Linked DNA regions of Homo sapiens: all the other regions are linked to region 4. The links are contacts of gene promoters, found by promoter capture Hi-C in human tissues and cell types (Jung and others, 2019). All regions are on one chromosome and are shown on one strand. The core of a region is centred on a gene start or on the middle of the fragment in contact, and the rest is flanking DNA. Distances in the headings are between cores, read along the strand shown. Region 1 has its middle 29 kb from the start of CD83. Region 2 holds the start of LOC124901265 (a long non-coding RNA gene). Region 3 has its middle 40 kb from the start of MCUR1. Region 4 holds the start of RNF182 (ring finger protein 182). Region 5 overlaps MCUR1 (mitochondrial calcium uniporter regulator 1).

Region 1 (2,700 bases), core at 55-2,554, 160 kb before region 4:
CTAGAGGAGAAAGTTTCAGCTTTTGAATCCTACAAATTCTCCTTTTTCCACTTCTTCACTAAGTCAAGGTTGGAGAGTGACTTCATCTGCCTCAAAATGAACTTTCTCACCTGCGATAAATATGAAGGTATCAGGACATAAAATTATCTCATAAACCACACATTTGGGAACACTCCATAAAGCCAAATCACCCCAGTTGAACCCAGAAACAGTTCCACGGATTGAGAGAAGAGACTGATAAGAATCAAGAGAGTTAATCATTGCAATATGGTTCCAGAAAAAGCGCTGCCTCCTGCTCCTCTCCACCCCATCTTGGGCCAAGCCAACTGAGAAAAGGATGACTGATAGGAACCCCAATAGCTTTAAAGACCCAAGAACATGTGTGAAACCTTCGAAGACCATAAGACCTCAAAGTCCCTTGAGCCCAGCATGGTGGGAAGCAATAGAGCAGAAATTGCTAGGTGGCATAGCAAGGCAGAAAGGGACTGGGCCAACACAGCCAGATATTGTCCCTGCTCCCCAGAAGGGCAAAGGAGTGACGAAGAGAGCCAGATCCACAGGGCCTCATCAGGATGAGGTGGGGGCAGCGGTAGTACTACACACATGGATGACTGGAGGCCAGGCAGGAGAGAGGACGCACAGGACCACGCCGGCACCGACAGGTGATAACCACGCCACGCCCCGCCCCACCACCTCCACCCTTGCGGGGAAAAAGATTAGATTTCTGGGCTGGGCGCGGTGGCTCACGCCTGTAATCCCAGCACTTTGGGAGGCCGAGGCGGGCGGATCACGAGGTCAAGAGACTGAGACCATCCTGGCTAACACGGTGAAACCCCGTCCCTACTAAAAATACAAAAAATTAGCCGGGCGTGGTGGCGGGCGCCTGTAGTTCCAGCTACTCGGAAGGCTGAGGCAGGAGAATGGTGTGATCCCAGGAGGCGGAGCTTGCAGTGAGCCGAGACCGAGCCACTGCACTCTAGCCTGGGTGACAGAGCGGGACTCCGTCTCAAAAAAAAAAAAAAAAAATTAGATTTCTGAAACGCTTTGGAATGAGAGCACTAAACAGAAACTGAAATAGAAATTAAGTTTAGTCATAGAAAGTTACATTTGTTGCAGTCCAATATGGGTACTCATTACATGAATATATGTAAAGTAACTGTGCACGTGGCAGTTGCACAATAAATTCCAAGCATTATTATGATGACTATTGACCAGTTATATTTCTGTCCACCTTCTCTTTCCAGAGAAGTTGAGGCAACCTTGAGTGCTGAAATAAGGGCAGAGCATCCCTAGCATAATAAATGTTGGAGAACTATTTTATGTTTCTTTATATGAGTGATTGAGGGATCACTGTACTCCACCTTCTCCCATCTATTGTAGATTATATTATTCTTCAGTCAGTCTTCATGTTCCTGGTCCACCCTCCTGAATGGAGTACATCTCCCCATCCCTTGACCTTGGGCTGGGCCATAGGATGTGCGTTGACTGAAGAATGGGGTGTGGCACAATGGTGGCATGCCAGCACAAAGAGAGACTCAGAGGCATTATGTCTTTTCGCTTCCTGTCTGGCACTCCTGCTACTCTCCATAAGAAAAGGATGCCCCAGGCGGCCACTGCTTCTTCAGCCTGGGTCTCAGAATGAAAAACACACAAAGCAGACTTGAATCTGACCTGAAGCTTACAACCAAACCCCATCAAGTCTAGAGGAAGCCAAAAAGTTTAGGTGAGACACAGCTGAGGCGCAGCTGACCTACAGTCCCAGGACTGAGAAATGATTCATTTTCATAAATCATTAAAATTTGGGGTTGTTACTGCAACAAAATTTGCCTAATATACCACCAGCTAAAAGTGCCTTCAGCACATTGAAGTAAAGAAAGAGAAGAAAAGGAAGATGGATTGGGAAAACAAGGACAAGAAAGCTTTAAGAGATGAAGGGAAATTACCTTTTCAGGAAGTTTTGGTCTGGCAGTGGTCCTAAAGATGGAATAGCAGCATTGCTAATAAAGAAGAAAGTGGGAGAGTAAACAGAGAGTTCTAGAGATGCTTGTGAACCTTGGAGACCCTGAAGGTTAAGATGGGTTCAGGAAAACATGGTTTCTTAACTCAGACTTGCTACTTCTCCCTTAATTCTCAGCATTATATAACACTCTCTCAGTTTTAAGGAGTTTAATTCCCTTCTGAGCATTAAGCTTGGTAAATAAACTTTTATGATTTGCAATGAATTCTACATTGCTATCTCCCCTATTTCTACTTAAAATGCAGCAGGATGTGTGTTTGATATTGATTTGGGTTTGCAATTTAAATTGTTCTTGTGTAGGTATTTGTCAAAGAACTGATGTTTTCTCCATGTGTCATTTGAGATGGGTTAAGTATGCTCAGGAGGGGACAGCTGATATAGAGGTCTCTCCCTGAGCAGTCGGGTTAGTTATAAATTGCTCCGTGGTTTTTCCTAACCTTGTAATGGCTGAAGTAAAACTTAGCAGCTGAATAGTTAGCCCATTTATTTAATTTGATTTTGATTTTCCATTAAGCTCTAGTGATTTATTTAAATAGATTCTGAAATACCAAATTGAAATGTGAAGTATTTGGCATAAAGGAGGATTAAGAACCAAAATATAAATGGAATAAAATCCATTTTGCAAACCTCTAGACCTGTCCAATAAATTGCTTGGGAGACCTGCGTGGAATTACTTCTTCAGT
Region 2 (2,700 bases), core at 14-2,513, 180 kb before region 4:
GAAGTATCCAATCTGCTGCTCAATAACCTAAAAGCTTGCCATCACAGGAACCCCTTCTTAACCCACAGAGTTGAACGCCAAGGTGTATTTTCACACGTAGCATATTCTTCCTCATGTCCTCATACTGAGTATGAAGAGATCTCTGATGAAGGCCATTCCTGAGGAAGCATTTTCAGGCTAACTACAGCTACCTTATCATAAAAAACCAGACAGTATTTCGCAGCGTGTGTCTGGCGTGGGAGTGGGAGTGGAAATTCAGTAGCTCTGAGTCCTGACTTGTGTTCTTCCTCGAATGTACGAGAGGGGCTTACCCGTATGTTGATCTTCGCTTTCAGTGAAAAGGGAAAAGAAAGGTGAATGCAGAGGAAGAGCTTCTTGCCTTTCTGAAACCACTGGCTGTCACCTTCATGTTTTCTCTGCTGTGACTATAGAAAGAGAAAAACCGAAAATCATTAGAAAACATTGTGGTTACGCATTCTCACTGCCAAGGCAAGCATTTGGTAACCTTGGGCAAGGAACAAAGCTAGCCAGGTCCCTCTCCCTTTCTTCTGACCCTCAAACCTTCCTGTCTGATTGCAATTTGCATCACGGCCAGGGCTTCATCATTTAATTTATCTCAGAGAGCATCCTGACAGAGCATGGCAGAACATTGTGAACCTAGACATTTGAGAAGCTGGTCAGAGTTTGGGAGCCAGGGGAGAAAGCTCTAGAATGTTTTATTAGTTCTCTCACCTGCCCCTCCCAAGTCAGGGACTCATGGGGAACGGGTGTGGAGAGAGGGAAGTTTTAATTCACTATTAAACATTCACTAAGCAGCTGGTAAGTGGTGCATAAGAAAAGACCATTCTCAAGAAGTTTACACAGTAGAATACAGTTTCCTTTTTCTGGAGTTGCTGGGGGAGTGTCTCACTATGTTGCCCAGGCTGGTTTCGAACTCCTGAGCTCAAGTGATCCTCCCACCTCAGCCTCCCAAAGTGCTGGGATTACAGGCATGAGCCGCCGTGCCTGGCCATTGAATACCATTTCTCACAGTGGACCTTGCTTGCCTCTCTGGAGTTCTACACAGTTTCTCACTGAGGGTCTGGGGGGACTGGGATGCAGGGGCAGAAGGTGGTTCTACAAGGAGGGAGAGAACTAGTGATGGGAGAATTCAGGGGAGGAGAGAGGATTAGGAGAAAAAGGAAATGAGAGTAAGGCATGCCCTTTAAGAAAAAGTCCCGAGGGAGGGGGGCCAGTGAACACGTTTCTGCTGTCTGCCTTAGACACCTGTCAGATGCTGAATGGATCATAAATAGGCAGAAAGAAGTTTGTGATAGGCTGGAAATAGCTCACCTGATGACTGCTGCCAGCAATGGGGGCAAAACCCATGGTACTCCCAGGCACCCAGCTCTCTACCCAGCCTGACTTCCTGGCTGGACTGATCTGCAGGATGAGGAAGTTCTGTAAAAGGGGAAGGCGGGGGTTCCCCTCTGCCCCAAGTGTGCCTTCTGAGCCTCCTTTCCAGAGAAGGGCTTTTGAGTGAAAAGAACGCACTTAACCTAGGCCTGCCCACGGACTACCGCAGCAGCTGCCCCTTGTTGAGCTCTGGCTGAGAGTCAAGCCTTCTGTGCTCAGCCCCTTCTGACTCTGCTCCCCAGCGGAGAGCTCTTATCTGCTGGCCTCCAGGTCTCGGGTTCCCATTACCACAGCCCTTCCCTCAAGCCAGTAGAACCTTCGCGAACACCTCCACTGCTGGCGGCACTCCCCAGCGTTAAGGCCTGAACACCCATGGGCCATTGAGAACCACAGAAGGGCTGGAAGGAAAGCCCAAAGTGTGGCTATGTAAATTGTGTTTTTAAATAAAATTTCCCATCAGGTTTTTCCCTGAGGGCTACTTCTTAGTCACCCTGTACTTTCCAGTTATGGGCTTGTTTGTTCACCGAATGAACCAAATAAATAGAAATAACTCTTATTTCTCGTGCTTTGTCTTTGCTTTCTTTTTTTCTCTTAGAAACTAAAAGCCTGTAGAGAGAGTGTCCATCCTCTGCCAAGGAGGAAAGAGGGAGGTGAAACAATTCCTTTGTTGAACATGAGGAAGAAACCGCATAATCCAGCAAGTGACACAAAAACAAAACACAGAGATATTGGTCTCAGGCTTGATTTGAGGCACTTAGTGGAAAGTCTCTCCACAGGCACAACACAGTCCTTCAAGGACCATGTAAAGCAAGCCTCTTCTTTTCTCTTCTCTTCTCTTTTCTTTTCTTCTCTTTTCTTCTTTTCTTTTTTGAGATGAAGTCTTGCTCTGTTGCCCAGCCTGGAGTTTAATGGTGTGATCTCAGCTCACTGCAAACTCCACCTCCCAGGTTCAAGCAATTCTCCTGTCTCAGCCTCCCGAGTAGCTGGGATTACAGACACCTGCCATCATGCCCAGCTAATTTTTGTAGAGAAAGGGTTTCACTGTGTTGACCAGGCTGGTCTTGAACTCCTGACCTCAGGTGATCTACCCGCCTTGGCCTCCCAGAGTGCTGGGATTACAGGCGTGAGCCACCATGCCAGGCTGCCTTTTTTTTTTTTTTTTTTAAAGGCAGGAACTTCTATGCTGAAATCTCCTGCTTGTATGCTTCTTGCTGCACCTTTGAGCTTGCTTGTCCCTCTCTCTAGAAACTTCTTGCCCAGAATCACAGCCCAACTTCCTCATTCATTTCACCCAAGTGTGTTCAA
Region 3 (2,700 bases), core at 201-2,700, 150 kb after region 4:
ACCTGGCCTCCAGACATAGTTTTTTTGTTTGTTTGTTTGTTTTTCCGAGACAGAGTCTTGCTCTGTCACCCAGACTGGAATGCAGTGGCTGATCTCAGCTCACTGCAATGTCCGCCTCCCGGGTTCGAGCAATTCTCCTACCCCAGCCTCCCAAGAGCTGGAATTACAAGTGCCTCCCACGATGCCTGGCTAATTTTTTTTTTTTTTTTTTTTTTGTATTTTTAGTACAGACACGGTTTCACCATGTTGGCCAGCCTAGTCTCGAACTCCTGACCTTGTGATCCACCCGCCTCAGCCTCCCAAAGTGCTGGAATTACAGGCGTGAGCCACCGCGCCCGGCCCAGGCATAGTTTTAAAGTAATCACAATCTCATTTAATCTTCATCACATCCCTATGAAGTAAGTACTACAGTGATCTCTATTTTGCAGATGAAGATACTGAGGTATAGAAAGTTTCAGTAGACTGGATGAGGTGGCTCACACCTATAATCCCAACATCTTGGGAGGTGAAGTTGGGAGGATCCCTTGAGCCCAGAAGTTTGAGACCAGCCTGGGCAACATAGGGAAACTCCATCTCTATTTATTTAAAAAAAAAAAAGAAAGAAAGAAAGAAAGAAAAAAGTGGGCCTGGCGTGGTAGCTCATGCCTGTAATCCCAGCACTTTGGGAGGCCGAGGCAGGTGGATCATCTGAAGTCAGGAATTCAAGACCAGTCTGGCTAACATGGCAAAATCCTGTCTCTACTAAAAATATTAAAATTAGCCAGGCACAGTGGCGTGCACTTATAATCCCAGTTACTCAGGAGGCTGAGGCAGGAGAATCACCTGAATCCAGGAGGTGGAGGTTGCAGTGAGCCGAAATTGTGCCACTGCACTCCAGCCTGGGTGACAGAGTGAGACTCTGACTCAAAAAAAAAAAAAAAAAAAAAAAAAAAATAGTAATAAAAAAGTTGAAGTAACTTGCCCAAGAACACATAGCTAATAAATGGTGACGTCAGAGTCAAACCGAAGCATTCTGATTCCAGGGAATAGATACCCTACCTGGCTGACCACATGTGGTAAGGATCAAATGAGGTCAAATACATGAAAATATTTTCTAAACAATAAAACCCTGGCCAGGTGCAGTGGCTCACGCCTGTAATTCCAGCACTTTGAGAGGCCGAGGCAGGTGGATCACAGGTCAAGAGTTCAAGACCAACCTGGCCAAGATGGTTAAACCCCGTCTCTACTAAAAATACAAAAAAATTAGTCGGGCATGGTGGCAGGTGCCTGTAATCTCAGCTACTCGGGAGACTGAGGCAGGAGAACAACCTGAACCTGGGAGGCGGAGGTTGCCCTGAGACGAGATCATTCCGCTGCACTCCAGCCTGGGCAACAGAGTGAGACTCCATCTCTAAATAAATAAATAAATAGTAAAACCCCATACCTACATATAAAATGTGTAGTCTGCATGCAATAACTGGAATCCTTTGCTAGTAATTACTAGTAATATTACTTGCCCAACCACCAAACAAGCAAACTTCTGTTAGTACCCTCCCTGGCAACCACCCCAGGGTACTAAGGTGAATTTACTAAGATGCAGTATCCTAGTAAAAGAACATTCTTCTTCGAGTATCTAGGGTACAGACTGTAGTAGGTATTAAAACAACGTAGGTAACCCATGGACATATCCGTAAGCTCTCAAGTGTTATACATCAATCTTCCATGCAGACCCCAGGGTGATTGTGAATATTTATATTTTTATTGGGGAATCTTCGTATAAAGGGGTTGATGTTGACATGGAGCCCACTGTTTGGGTCTCAGAGTCACCCTGAGTTTAGGCCTTAAATACTTGTTTGATTCAGTACCCTTGTTTTTGAGACAGGGTCTCACTTGTCACCCAGAGTGCAGTGGTGCAATCTCAGTTCACTGCAACCTCTGCCTCCTCATGCTCAAGCCATTCTCCTACCTCAGCCCTTCATATAGCTGAGACTACAAGCACGCACTACCATGTCTAGCTAGTTTTCGTATTTTTTTGTAGATAGTGTTGCCATGTTCCCCAGGCTGGTCTATGAACTCCTGGACTCAAGAAATCCGCCTGCCTTGGTCTCCCAAAGCGCTAGTATGTCTGGAACTGGTAGGTTCTTGATCTCATTGAAATTATGAATGAAGCCACGTACCCTCGCGGTGTGTTACAGCTCTGAAGGTGGCGCGTCAGGAGCTTATTCCTTCTGATGTTTACATGTGTTTGGAGTTTTTTCTTTCTGGTGCGTTCGTGGTCTCGCTGCCTTATGAGTGAAGATGCAGATTTTTGTAGTGACTATTAAAGCTCAAAAAAGCAATGTAGACCCACAGAGTAAGCACTAGCAAGGTTTATTGCAAAACACATTCCAAAAACGTGAAAGGAGACCCGAGCGGTTTGCCACTGCTGGTTCCGGCAGCCTGCTTTTATTCTCTTATCTGGCCCCACCCACATCCTGCTGATTGGTAGAGCCGAGCAGTCTGTTTTGATAGGGCGCTGATTGGTGCGTTTACAATCCCTGAGCTAGACACAAAGGTTCTCCACGTCCCCACCAGATTAGCTAGATACAGAGTGTCGACACAAAGGTTCTCCAAGGCCCCACCAGAGTAGCTAGATACAGAGTGTCGATTGGTGCATTCACAAACCCTGAGCTAGACACAGGGTGCTGATTGCTGTGTTTACAAACCTTGAGCTAGATACAG
Region 4 (2,700 bases), core at 103-2,602:
TTCCAATCAACTTAACTGCAATTCAAAATGATCAGTGGTACTGTTTTCATTAATTACTCTCTAGCAAAAATATAATTTCTTGCATTCCATATAGTTCTTTAAATGACCTATTCCAACTTATACATTATTTTACTAAGTTGGATATACAATTTTATATGTTAGATTATTTTCCAGTTATCAATATGACATCTCATATTGTTTAAATATGATTTAAAACAAATCTTATTAACATATATACAATTTCCTTCTGAATTGATCAACTGTATTTCTGAAAATGTATCTGTTTTCTTTCATATTACTACATGTAAGATGATGTCTAAGTACCAAAAAAAAAAGTCTTCACAGTCACAATTTAAATCTGTGCTTCGCGTCTGCAACAAACTATCACGAAATGATTGCAAGGGTTGGGGCCACTGAGAAAGGTACCTATAACCTATCCAGTGCCCCAGTGGCAACCGCATCGTGGTCCTCATCATCCCACTCATAAACACCGATGCAAACACCGCCCAGCTACCTGCCTCCAGAGGTGCTTTGGATTGCCTCCCTACACATAAAAACAAAAGGCACTTTCCAGTTCCTTACAGCATGAACACAATACCTTCTAGAAACAAAAGCAATGACCTCGGTGCCAAGTATCTCCTTGACAAAGTATCGGTACTGCTCTACATTCTGGTCTTGCTAGTCGGGGAAAGCCGGGCTACCCTTACCATCCAGTTATAGGTGCAACTGCACCTTCCAAAGAAAAAAAGGTCTTTCGATTCAATATCCAAACGAACTTCAGAAGCCTCCTCAAAATGCTTCAGCCACAGGCATAAAAATGGGCTCACTTTTCAGAGATTCGTAAAAATCTTTCGCTTGTCCCTCTTACTACCCTCCCAACCCCTCCTCAAAGAGAATGCCATGAAACATGAAAGTCCAAAGGTAAATACTTTCATACCTTTTTTTCCCCCAAAAGCCTCGATGGCACGCCAAGAAGGAAAATAACAACAACAACAGAGGGGCAGCTCCCTGAGCAGGTGCAGCCCGCGCGGGCGCTCCGCAGCCGCCCTCCGCCGCACAGCCCCTCAAGTTGGTGCCAGGACGGCGGCCCCCGTGGTGCCCGGAGGGAGACTCCGCGCGCGGGCCCCGGCGCCGCTCGGCCCGAAGTTTGCCGCCCCCTCTCCTCGGCGCGCTTGGGCGGCCCGGCGCCGTCCAGGACTGCGGGGCTGGCTGCTGCCCCAGCGTTGGGGAGGCCCGGCGTCCCGCCGACCCCTCCCCGGCCGCGGGCGCGATCGCCTTACCTGGCCGGCGGCGGCCCAGGGCCCGGGAGCCGCTCCGGCTGCGGCGGCGCCTGGGAGGGGAGGGAGGTTCCCGTGGAGGAGGAGCTCGCGCGAGGAGCTAGCGGGCTGGCGGGCGGGCGGCTTTGTCTCTACGGCGCTGAGCCGCCGACCCTGCGTCACCATGGCAACCGCCGGGGCCCCCCCGGCCCTTCCCCTCAGCAGTCCGGGTATTCGGAGAGGACAAGGACCCCCGATGGGCCGCCACCACCACAAACACGCCCCTCTCTCAGTCTCCCTCACAAACCGCCTGTTTCTCCCCAGCGAGAGGGGAAGGCTAAAGCGGAGCGAGCCCAGGGCCAAGTGGTATTCGCATCCTAGTAGGCACTCCTTTGCTTCCCCACACTGGACATTCCAACTCCCGTCGCACCACCATCCCCCCCACAGACACCCTCCACCACTACCACCACCACACCTTTCTCCTGTGGAGCTGTACCCTCAAAATGGAAATTCACTTAAGGGAGGAGAAAGAGCAATGCAAAGTGATAAAGTGTTGAGCAACTGGTACTCGGTTCTCCTGTTGCAACTGCCGCAGCATGCACGGAGCTGCCAAGGGACGCCGTGCCGCCTCCTCCCTCTCCCCCTCCTCCTCCTCTCTCTTTTAGCAAGCTTTGCCTCTGCTGGATGTGGTCTCACTCCACCCAACCCGTGTATCTGTCTTGTTGAGGGCTCCCGTAGGAGAGAGGGGAAAGGGGGCTTTATCTCTGATGTAAACACTGGATACACTTGTAACCTCAGAAGCTGAAACACAACTTTCAGGCTGCAGTATGGATCTCAGCTGCTGCCACACTGCGCAGCTACTGGCTGTGACCGCTAAGCATCTACCATGAGCCCTGAGTGACTCTGTGCCAAGGACTGGTCACGTACTGCAGGCCATGGCACTCAGGAGCAGAGAAAAGAAAGCTAACTTTTTCCTCTCCTGAGGAAATTCTTAGAGAGGGAGAGAAAAGTACCAGCAGACCCTTGGTCATGCTTCCTCTAAAGGACGAACTAGAGGGCAGCCTCCATGGGGGGAGTGAGTCATCCCTCCATACTGTTTTCTTGAAAGATCCGTTGCTGAATCCAAAAGCTACAGTGTCTTTCTTCAAACCCTGGGGAACATGACATTTATTTTTTGGCATTTGTGAATCACCAAAGGAATGTCAATGATTTATAATAAAATCCACGGTAGCTGATGTTTTCTGGGTTTACTACTTGAGAAGCCACAAAGCAGAACAATGTTATTGCCATTTGAAGGTACACCTATATTAACTAATGAAAAGATAAGATCTATTTCATGGTGGAAAAGGAAAACAGTTTGTTCCTCGGAGAGACTGGCCACTTTCTTGTAATGGGAATATTCTGAATGAAGTCAATAATATTCCAGATGAAGTCAAAAGACAAG
Region 5 (2,700 bases), core at 188-2,687, 130 kb after region 4:
ACTCAAAAAAGTAACCTACTTGTGTTTTGGAACTGCCACTGGATTTCAAGAGTTAATCCAAGCTTCGTTATACAAAATAATTATTAAGGCTGTGTTACCTGTCTTTCTAGTCTTACAACAACAGTCTCCACCCATAAAGATTAAATCACCTAGTGTTACTAAATAGTTACTGACTATAGCATGTCACTGGTGTCTGGAAGAGGAGAAACTCTTTTGGTTACCTTTATCTTTATGGGTTGTATACTCAGGAAGAACTGAATTCACTTGATATAGGAAAATGACTGTGTGTAGCTAACCAACCTGGGAAAAACTACATCAAGGACATCAGGAAATACAGGGCATGAATGTAGATTAAAGCCAGTGAATTTTTTTAAAATTTTATATGGAGTCATTTTAATAACATAACTAGGCTGATATATATGTACATTTTTCAATCATGTAACATTTAGATTTTACTCATTTTAAGTCATTAACATCATCCAGCAAACAAAAATTTTCCAGAAATTTTTTTCACAATTACAGTTTTAGTCTTTAAACCAAAATGAAAAAATTTCTGCCGGGCATGGTGGCTCACACCTGTAATCCCAGCACTTTGGGAGGTCAAGGTGGGTGGATCACCTGAGGTCAGGAGTTCGAGGCCAGCCTGGCCAACGTGGTGAAACCCTGTCTCTACCAAAAATACAAAAATTAGCCCAGCGTGATGGCCCACCTGTAGTCTCAGCTACTCGGGAGACTGAGGCAGAAGAATCATTTGAACCCAGGAGGCAGAGATTGCAGTGAGCCGAGATCACGCCACTGCACTCCAGCCTGGGTGACAGAGTGAGACCCTGTCTCAAAAAAAAAAAAAAGAAAAGAAAAAAAATGATGAAATTTCATTCTTGCAAATACTCATATTTTTAAATTATTGGATATATAGAGTGGATTCATTCAGTGTTCTTATAAGAAAAGTAAAGCTTATAATATTTTGCAGACTTGATAATGCAGCACTCAAAATACTTACCCTGATTTTATTTTACTTGAATTTACTAGTTAAATATGCTGATAAATATGATTTACATGTAATTACTTTATCTGGAATGACTATATTGACCTTAATCTCCAGAAAGCAACCAATGCACAGAGTTTCAATTAAATCCTGTCCATCATGATAGTAACTTTTTCTACATGACACAAAAGTGTCTGTGGTATATTTGAACAGTAACTGTGACTATGAATTGTTCTTATAGTCTTTTTTTAGTGTTTCATTATTTTAATTTCAGTGGGTTTTGGGGGAACAGGTGGTGTTTGGTTACATGAAGACGTTATTTAGAGGTGATTTCTGAGATTTTTGGTGCCCCCATCACCCTAGCAGCGTACACTGTACCCAATGTGTAGTCTTGCCCCTCACCCACCTCCTACCCTTTCCCCCAAGTCCTCAAAGTCCACTGTATCATCCTTTTGCCTTTGCATCATAGCTTAGCTCCCATCAAGCCAGTGAATTTATGTCATTTAGTAACCTAGCGGGGAGGTTGTTCTTGGTAATCATAAACTTGGATTACTCTGAAGCACAAGGCAGTAGTAAATTATACAGCGAGTGTGTTTGTAACATGCATTGGTGAAGATGAGTTTTCTGGCTCTCGTTCTTTCGGTAAAGTTATAATGTTAAATATTAAATTGCAAATTAACTATGATATTTACAGCCAGTTCCAAAAGCAGTATGGCATATAAACTTCTGGGGCATGGGGATATAGAGCTACATAGATGTTATTTTTAAAACCATGACAGCGTCAATATTTAGGCTCTTCTTTTGTGGGTGAGTCAATGTTGAGTTAATGAAGACTGAGGTTTAGTGGTGCACAAAATCTTGTTCCACGCCGCCCTCTAGTGGTGATCTGATGCATCGGGCTCTCCTGGTCTGAAACCCTGAGGTTTAAAGAGCATTGTTCTTGGTTTTACAACCTACTCCTTGGCTTAGGGTTTTGGGGTTTTTTGTTTTTGTTTTTGTTTCTCTTTCTCTTTTTTTTCTTTTTTTTTTTTCTACTTCTAAGCTCCCAGTAGTCCCAGGAGAATATTTTATAGCTAGGAAGTTTCTATATACTTCAAAGGATTAACTTTTTCTTTCTATAACAAGGTTAATGTAGTTCTTAAAAGTCGTCATTCAAATTACTGATTGTCATATGCTCAATTAAATCTTGTTGCCCACTACTAAGGAGATAAGTCTGATTTCAATCTTACTGTCTACAAAACTGCACTAAATCTTTTCACTGACATTAATAGCCAAAAGGCGAGATACTTTAACTCTGGGTAGAATTAGTTCCTTTAGTAACGCTGGATTATGGCTACGCCCAAGTGGGTTTTTTTATTGTTATTAAAACCAACATGTGCAGGAGGCTAAGGCAGGAGAATTGCTTGAACCTGGGAGGCAGAGGTTGCAGGGACCCCAGATCAAGCCACTGCACTCCAGCCTGGGAATAGAGTGAGACTCCATCTCAAAACAAAAAACCAAGCCAAAAAAAAAAAAACCCAACATGTGATGAGTTAGTGTATTTATGTATTTACATTGTATTTTATAATCACAACACAATGTCTTTGTCATAGAATAATAATCCTTGGCAGCTATTTGTTCCCCAACTTCATACCTTTTCTGTCTTTTGTTGAGACTCAAGTAGTGACGTGTTTTGCTACTAGTTATGATGGGATAGCTCCTAAATTGAGTTGAGT

What was found. The method cuts DNA at HindIII sites, captures the fragments that hold promoters and counts their contacts. A contact is called where the count stands out against the background at its distance.
Region 1: a contact is called between a fragment that was not itself captured here and the fragment with the promoter of RNF182 in region 4, in 1 of the 25 tissues and cell types used here (mesenchymal stem cells).
Region 2: a fragment that was not itself captured here is called in contact with the fragment with the promoter of RNF182 in region 4 in 1 of the 25 tissues and cell types used here (hippocampus).
Region 3: a fragment that was not itself captured here is called in contact with the fragment with the promoter of RNF182 in region 4 in 1 of the 25 tissues and cell types used here (H1 embryonic stem cells).
Region 5: a contact is called between a fragment that was not itself captured here and the fragment with the promoter of RNF182 in region 4, in 1 of the 25 tissues and cell types used here (mesendoderm cells).

What each region holds. Positions count from the first base shown.
Region 1 is chr6:14,087,826-14,090,525 of GRCh38, reverse strand. No RefSeq gene overlaps it. Among named protein-coding and RNA genes, the nearest start is that of CD83, 29 kb to the left of the region's middle. RefSeq lists enhancers at 1,297-1,798, 1,835-1,884. The HindIII fragment of the contact is 4,114 bases long and covers 1-2,700 here.
Region 2 is chr6:14,107,871-14,110,570 of GRCh38, reverse strand. It overlaps LOC124901265 (a long non-coding RNA gene), which reads right to left and starts at 1,808. Exons shown (of 2, transcript XR_007059464.1): 1 at 1,333-1,808; 2 at 1-425. RefSeq lists an enhancer at 1,380-1,519 and a cis regulatory region at 1,156-1,943. The HindIII fragment of the contact is 4,101 bases long and covers 1-2,700 here.
Region 3 is chr6:13,773,022-13,775,721 of GRCh38, reverse strand. No RefSeq gene overlaps it. Among named protein-coding and RNA genes, the nearest start is that of MCUR1, 40 kb to the left of the region's middle. The HindIII fragment of the contact is 9,980 bases long and covers 1-2,700 here.
Region 4 is chr6:13,923,604-13,926,303 of GRCh38, reverse strand. RNF182 (ring finger protein 182) reads right to left here and starts at 1,352. Exons shown (of 3, transcript NM_152737.4): 1 at 1,281-1,352. RefSeq lists an enhancer at 1,957-2,457. The HindIII fragment of the contact is 4,770 bases long and covers 1-2,596 here.
Region 5 is chr6:13,794,440-13,797,139 of GRCh38, reverse strand. All of the region lies in intron 6 of MCUR1 (mitochondrial calcium uniporter regulator 1), which reads left to right. Among named protein-coding and RNA genes, the nearest start is that of MCUR1, 19 kb to the left of the region's middle. The HindIII fragment of the contact is 3,316 bases long and covers 1-2,700 here.